2 separate regions of the Homo sapiens genome follow, and region 1 is linked to region 2. The links are contacts of gene promoters, found by promoter capture Hi-C in blood cells and fetal thymus (Javierre and others, 2016). All regions are on one chromosome and are shown on one strand. The core of a region is centred on a gene start or on the middle of the fragment in contact, and the rest is flanking DNA. Distances in the headings are between cores, read along the strand shown. Region 1 overlaps TTC7A (tetratricopeptide repeat domain 7A). Region 2 holds the start of STPG4 (sperm-tail PG-rich repeat containing 4).

Region 1 (3,366 bases), core at 262-2,761, 150 kb before region 2:
TGTTCTTTGCAGAGAAGCAGCACCCAGGGCCTGATGGGAGAAGCCTGGCCTTGTGTTTTGCTTCAGTTCTTTTATAAGCAGAGCCAGCCCAGGGTCTCTTATGGCACGGATGAGGCTATTGGGCACTTCCTCGGAGGTACCTGGAGGCACAGAAGGAGCCAGGAGTGAAGTCAGAATGTCTGGGCTCTAATTTAGGTCCCAACCCCCTGTCTTGTATGCATTGGAAAGCTTACCTGGCCTCCCTTAGTCTTCTCATCTGTAAAATAGGCTGAGAGTACACAGAAGATTATTGTGAGCATTGTGAGATGCCGTACAGAACATGCTCCACATGGTAGTTTCCTTTCCTTCTCTTAGACTGGAGCCCTGTTTATGTCCAGGGTTAGAGAGGAGAAACAGGGCTGGGCAGAGGGAGAGGTTAGTGCTGCCTGTGGCCCTGCAGCCACCAAAGGATCAGGACTAGTCTTGTATCTTACTAGGTTGGAAAAAGCTGGCAGAGGAGCCCCCAGGCAGCTAGAGCTCAGGCAAGCAGCAGCAGTCCCAGACTGGCCGACTGAGGGAATGGGGGGTGGTTCAGCCTCAGCTCCCTGGGACCTTATGCAAGGTAGTTCATCTTCTGGGGCTCAGTGTCCTCATCTGCAGAGGGTGGGGGGTGGTCAGTGGTTTCATCCCTGCCCAGGGTTACTGTGAGGCCAGATGAGACGGTGGATGTGACAATTCAGCTTCTAAAGGAGTAATGCAGGCCGGGAGCGGTGGCTCACGCCTGTAATCCCAGCACTTTGGGAGGCCGAGGCGGGCGGATCACTTGAGGTCAGGGGTTCAAGACCAACCTAGCCAACATGGTGAAGCCCCGTCTCTACTAGAAATACAAAAAAATTAGCCAGGCGTGGTGGTGGGTGCCTGTAATCCCAACTACTTGGGAGGCTGAGGCAGGAAAATTGCTTGAACCCAGGAGGCGGAGGTTGCAGTGAGCCGAGACCACACCACTGCTCTCCAACCTGGGCAACAAGAGCGAGACTCTGTCTCAAAAAAAAAAAAAAAAAAAAGAGTAATGCATGTCACACGCATAGGGCTGGCTGTTTGACCAAGAGTAGTCCCTGCCTTGGGTTTCTCATGGGCCAGCCTGCCTGAGGCCTTTCCCTAAGGTCCCATGTTTGCTTCATGGATACTTGGTCAAAGACCAGAAATGTGTTATGCTAGCAGTGCTGAGCTGTTGGGTGATGGGTGTATGGGGACTAGCGTTGTTTCTTTGGCTTCTCCTCTTCTGACCTGCCAGAAGGCTTGCAGTGAATGTTCTTTAATTGAGGAGGGGCTACCCTAGGAGAACAGCCGGAAGGACAAAGGCTAGGAGCAGGACAACTACACAAGCCCTAGGTTTAAATCCTGGGATTAAATGCATGGATTAAACGGAGCAGTGCATCCCCAGCGCTGGGCAGCCTTGGGGTGGGTGTGGGGGTTATGGCAGTGCACACTAGGCAGGGAGAAACCAGAGGAGAACATTCTGCCATTATTCTAAGAACAGTGAGGAAGAGACGGTGAGAAGATTTAATGTTCATGTATTACTTTAAGGGTCACAAGTGCATTCACATCTGTTACTGCATTTGATCTAGAGGATTTTCTAATGAAAGAAAGCAGGATTCTGAGGCCACTTCAATGGTGGAAGGGAAAGAGTGTGGCTGGGACTAGGTCAGAGCTACTCCCAGAGCATGGGGGTACACCATGTGGCCTGAGGGCAGTGAGCCAGGGAGGAGGGAGCAGGACAGCTGGGGGTGCTGGGAAGGAACTGATGCTCCCATAGTGTCTGAGGCCCTGGCCTCAGAGGCTAGCCCTGGCCCCTGAGCTGCACATTAATTCTGTTCTGCTGTGGCTTACCCACCAGCCCCCATGCCTGCCTTTTCTCTGTCCCATTTCCCCCTACCCCTCCCTGTTGCCATGGTTACACACACAGGCACTGCCCAGCAACCACCAGGAATATTTCACTTCGGCCCTGCCCCAAAGCCATAGTAACCACTCAGCCCACTTCTGCTTCTGGCTGGGGAATCACAGCCCTCTCTTGCACAGGCCCCAGTTCGCACCAGTCCCTAGGACCCCCAGGGAGCCTTCCTGGCTGCCTGCCTATTGAGGGCCTATCACCAGCCTGAGGATTTGTGCTGCTGCTGCTGCCGCTGCTGCTAGTATGCTCCTCTCTTCTGTTCCTATTCTTCTGACCTAATTAACGCCCGGTTCTGAAAATCCACCCCTCCCTCTGCCAGACACAAATTCAGACACTGTTCTCTTAAAGGTCAAGGTCTAGGGTGGACAGGGGGAGGTTTCCACTCCAGGCCCAGAGTCTTTCTCTCCTGAGTGTCACACCCTGCAGGTTGAGTCAAGTTCTGTGCGTGAGGCTGTGCCTGGGGCCAGGAGTCTAGCCATGAGCAAGAACTGGTGAACCAGACGGGGGCATGTGAGCTGAGGCATGGGCTGGGTTGGGGGAGGACAGGAGAGGCCTGACCTCTCCTGGTGAGATGAGTTAGGGATGGTGCTGTAAGAGGGTGGTCCTGAATGGGGTTGTGAGGAGGTAGAAGGTGTCCAGGTTGATAGAGGGAACTGCAGCATGACCGAAGATGGGCCATGGTGACTGTAGGGACCAGCAAGGGGTTCCATGTCACTGGAGAGAAGCCCGCCAGTTAGGCTGCCCCAGAAAGGAGTTTAGATTTTATCCTGATGGCCATAGTGATGGCTCGCAGCCCACTATCCCCTGAACAAGATTGGTCTGCACAGACAGGCAGGAGGGTCCCCAGACCCTGGATGTGCCCAGCCAAGCTTCTTCCCACCCCTGCAGACTGCCTGGCTCCACCCGCTCCCATCATAACCTCTTGCTTCCACCAGAATTCCAGGTCAGCCTCCACTCGGGGATGTGCATCCTATAATGCTGCTCCTTCCTGTTCTCCCCATGGGCAGGGCCTCTGTGCCCCCGTCCTCTCACACCCGAGCCACTCTTGCCTGTTGGAGGCCGCCCCTGTGGGTCCCCACCCTGGGTGGCCAGAGCTGGGGAGCTGCTGGAGGTGGTGGAGTGGGTCAGTACATCGCCGGGGACAGAACGAGGGCTGTATTCCTAGTTGGCTCAGGGGACTAGCTCCTGCCAACCCTCTCCCTAGAATTTCTTCTCTCTTCCTGTTGGTGGCTGTGTGGGTGGACTTCACTGGGAAGGAGGGGGATTTCTTGGCACCTTCTTTCTCCACTCCTCTCCTTCAACCCTTTGGAGCTCCTGAGTGGCTCCTGTTCCACAGGCTGACTCCAGAGCTCAGCCTTGCCGGGATTTCCGGGCATCCCGGCACCCTCTCCTGGGCCATCTAAGTCCATGGGGGCATGGGCAGCACTCACCAACTG
Region 2 (3,352 bases), core at 378-2,877:
GAGAATCACTTGAACTCCGTAGGCAGAGGTTGCAGTGGGCCGAGATCACATCACTGCAACTCCAGCCTGGGCGACAAAGCAAGAAGCCACCTCAGGGGGAAAAAAAAGACTAAGGCATTGTACTTATAAAGACTTGCATATACAATCAGTGCTTAATAAATGGTAGCTTTAATTTTTAACATCCCATTTGCCAAGTTAAGAAGCTGATTATTTTGGTATTCCTCAGTTTCCAAGGAAGCTTTTGTCTTCATATTTAGTACTCTATACCCATTCATCCATTATTATTTCATATTTATTTCAGCCCATTGTCCACAGAACACAACCGTTTAGTATATTGCTGTTTGTCCTAGATAAAATCATTAAAATGTTGAGTTCTCCTTTCATTTATAATGCCTTTATTACTATAAAATATAGGTCATCAAGCAGGACTGCATTAAAAGTAATAATCAGTAAAACTGATATAATTCATTCTTCCTGTCTAGTAACTTAAATCTACTGTACTTATGAGTACCACTGGGCTTTATTTTATTATGAAATATGTTAATTTCTTTAAAAAACATTTTCTCATGACACTGCTAAAGCTGAGCTTCTTCTTTGATACTTCTTCGCGAGATTTATGTTGAATCTTCTCTGTTGCACTTTTATAGTCACAGAAATACAACTTTCTCAGGCAGGTCAAGACAGGCCTCCCACCCCTACCCCAGAATAAGGAAAATGAGATGGGAAGGAGAGAGAAGTAAACGCGATCAATCTAATGGAAGACAATTGGCAGCTGCTGTTTTGTTTTGCCCAAGACAGGTGATCTAAATTCCATCTATCTACCACTTTAAATTCACTCTAAGGGGAAAGATAAAAGATTAGGTTAAACAACCCTCACCCACATTTATTTTAAAATGTAACAAAGGCCAGCCATGGCGGTGCATGCCTGTAATCCCAGCTACGCGGGAGGCTGAGGCAGGAGAATCCCTTGAACCCGGGAGGCGGAGGTTGCAGTGAGCCGAGATCACACCGCTGCACTCCTGCCTGGGTGACAGAGCGAGACTCTAAAAGAAAAACGTAGCAAAAGTAGCTTCAAATATTTTTATAAATATTAAAGTAGGAGGCGGAGCAAAACGTGTCTAGTAAAACTACAGAAGGAAAAACCCAGTCTTCCGGCAGATGGAGCGGAAAGGGAAAGAAATCCAATCACCATATTAAAGCAGTTGTCCAGTTTAATTAGTAGTGGGAAGAAGGGAAAAATACAGAAAACAAAGGGCGAAGGAGAAGGAAAAGGGAAGAAGCAAGGGGAAAAGAAATAAAACAAAGGAAATGTCCAATAAAGACCAGGAAGGAAGGTCCGCAGGTGGAGACGTGCGTGAGGGCAGGGAGAGAAGGGTAGGAAGAGGGAACGAGAGCGGCACGAAGGCCTGGGATTAGAGAGCGGTGGGAAAAGGGTAGTGGGCCTGGTGAGGGGAGCAGGAGCCAGGCCGGCAAGGGGCAGGCCATCTTACCGAAGCTGTGATGAATGATTCTCCACCCACCAGGTCTTCCCTTATTGAGGTGGAAGCGGTGGCGACGGCTGGCTGGTCCATGGTGGCCTCCTCTCTCTCTAGGCTGAACCTGAGCTCCGGTTGCTAGGAGGCGGGTGTGGCCCGTGGGCTCCCGAGCGCGCGCGCCTGGGACCGCTCCGGGGGACCCGCCAGGTTTGTCTTTAGTGCTGCAGGGAAGGGAAGCGGGCACGCACTTTGAGGTCCCGCGCGAAGAACTGCGCAGAGGAAAACCCTCGAAAAGAGACGGTTATGAAAGCTTGTGAGAAGAAAATCTAGAGGGCTCTGGAGTTGCTAGAGAGCCCTCGGGTAAGGATCTGCGAAAAGGGAGGCTTGTTAAGGGCTTGAGCGTACCCACAATCTCCATTAGTTCCCTTCCAATCCACCACCAATCGCACACCCCAGACAGGGAGGCAGTGTGCTTGGTAGGCATACTTAAGAGAAATCTGCCTTAGCACCCACTTTCTAAGATTGTTTCTAAGCTCCTCCAAATAGAAACTCTGGGGCTGACTTCTCTTGCTTCTGACTTGCAGAGTGGAGTGAGCACCAGACACAGCCGGTTTCACTAGCTGTGAAACCACAGACCACCCCATTCTTCTCAGTATAGACCCTTTTTATTGTCAGCCTCTCTAGGCTGTAGCTTCTTCTTAACCTAGGAACATTCTCACCTTTAAAAACAAACCCTCCACAACCTTAATTTCATTTTATACAGTACCTACTGTATTCCAGGGACTTCACACACATTAGTCTCATTTAATCTTCATACCAACCCTACAAAGTAGGTATTAGTTTCATTTTCTGGATGAGGAAACAAAGGTTTCCTTGGACGTTTAGCACAGTTCACTCAGCATCACACACAAATGGCAGAACCAGAATTAAAATCCAGACCTGACTCTAGAGCTCCACTGCCCTATACCATGAAGTTTCTGCTTCCCTTTACAAACTTTCAAGAGTAATATGGACTCTTTTCTCACTTCCCATACTTTCCTTAAAACATCTTAATCTGGCCTGCACACAGCTTTTAATTAAAATTGCACCTGAACTCACCAGGGATCCAAGTGCCAAATCCAGTGGGGATTTTCAGCTCTTATGAAACTTGGCCTTCAATTTTCATTGCTGCATTGATTATTCCCTCATTCTTGAATCACTCTCCTCCCTTGACTACCAGGACTTGGACGCTGGTTGCATATAATGACTTATTCTGTGCTTATTTCCTTGTCTATAGAGAAGGGGATAATAAAATTGGTACCTATCCACATAGGTTATAAAAAAGATTAACTCGAACTGTTCACAACCATGTCTGGCACAGTGCAGTCAGTAAATGTGAGCTGTCATTACCTTTAGGACAAAAGCAACATTTACAATCCAGTCTCTCGCTTCTCTCTTTTTTTTTGAAACGAAGTCTCACTCTGTTGCCCAGGCTGGAGTGCAGTGGCGCGATCTCACTACAACCTCGGCCGCCCGCCACCATGCCAGCTAATTTTTGTATTTTTAGTAGAGACGGGGTTTCACCATATTTGTCAGGCTGGTCTCGAACTCCTGACCTCATGATCCACCCACCTCGGTCCCCCAAAGTGTTGGGATTACAGGTTGAGCCACCACACCCGGCCACTTCTCTTATTAGGATGGCATGCTCTGCTGTATCATGCTTGCAAAAACCCCAAACATGCCATCTTCACATTTCTATTTGTCTCCACATATGCTAGCTCTTCTGCATGAAATGCTATTCTTTTCTTTGACCACCTGGAAAATCTCAAGGGTCAGCTCCTCTGAGTAGACCTCTAAGCCTAATCCACTAAGTCCCAAAGGACCCTGTGCCTATCATT

What was found. Contacts are between HindIII fragments. The CHiCAGO score rates a contact against its expected background, and 5 or more counts as called.
Region 1: a contact is called between a fragment that was not itself captured here and the fragment with the promoter of STPG4 in region 2, in 1 of 17 cell types (monocytes). The highest score is 5.2, in monocytes.

What each region holds. Positions count from the first base shown.
Region 1 is chr2:47,000,837-47,004,202 of GRCh38, forward strand. The region is part of intron 8 of TTC7A (tetratricopeptide repeat domain 7A); the gene reads left to right. Among named protein-coding and RNA genes, the nearest start is that of TTC7A, 61 kb to the left of the region's middle. RefSeq lists a silencer at 1,737-1,902. The HindIII fragment of the contact is 2,571 bases long and covers 227-2,797 here.
Region 2 is chr2:47,153,681-47,157,032 of GRCh38, forward strand. STPG4 (sperm-tail PG-rich repeat containing 4) reads right to left here and starts at 1,628. Exons shown (of 7, transcript NM_001163561.2): 1 at 1,491-1,628. The coding sequence starts at 1,571. RefSeq lists an enhancer at 2,146-2,305. The HindIII fragment of the contact is 1,547 bases long and covers 237-1,783 here.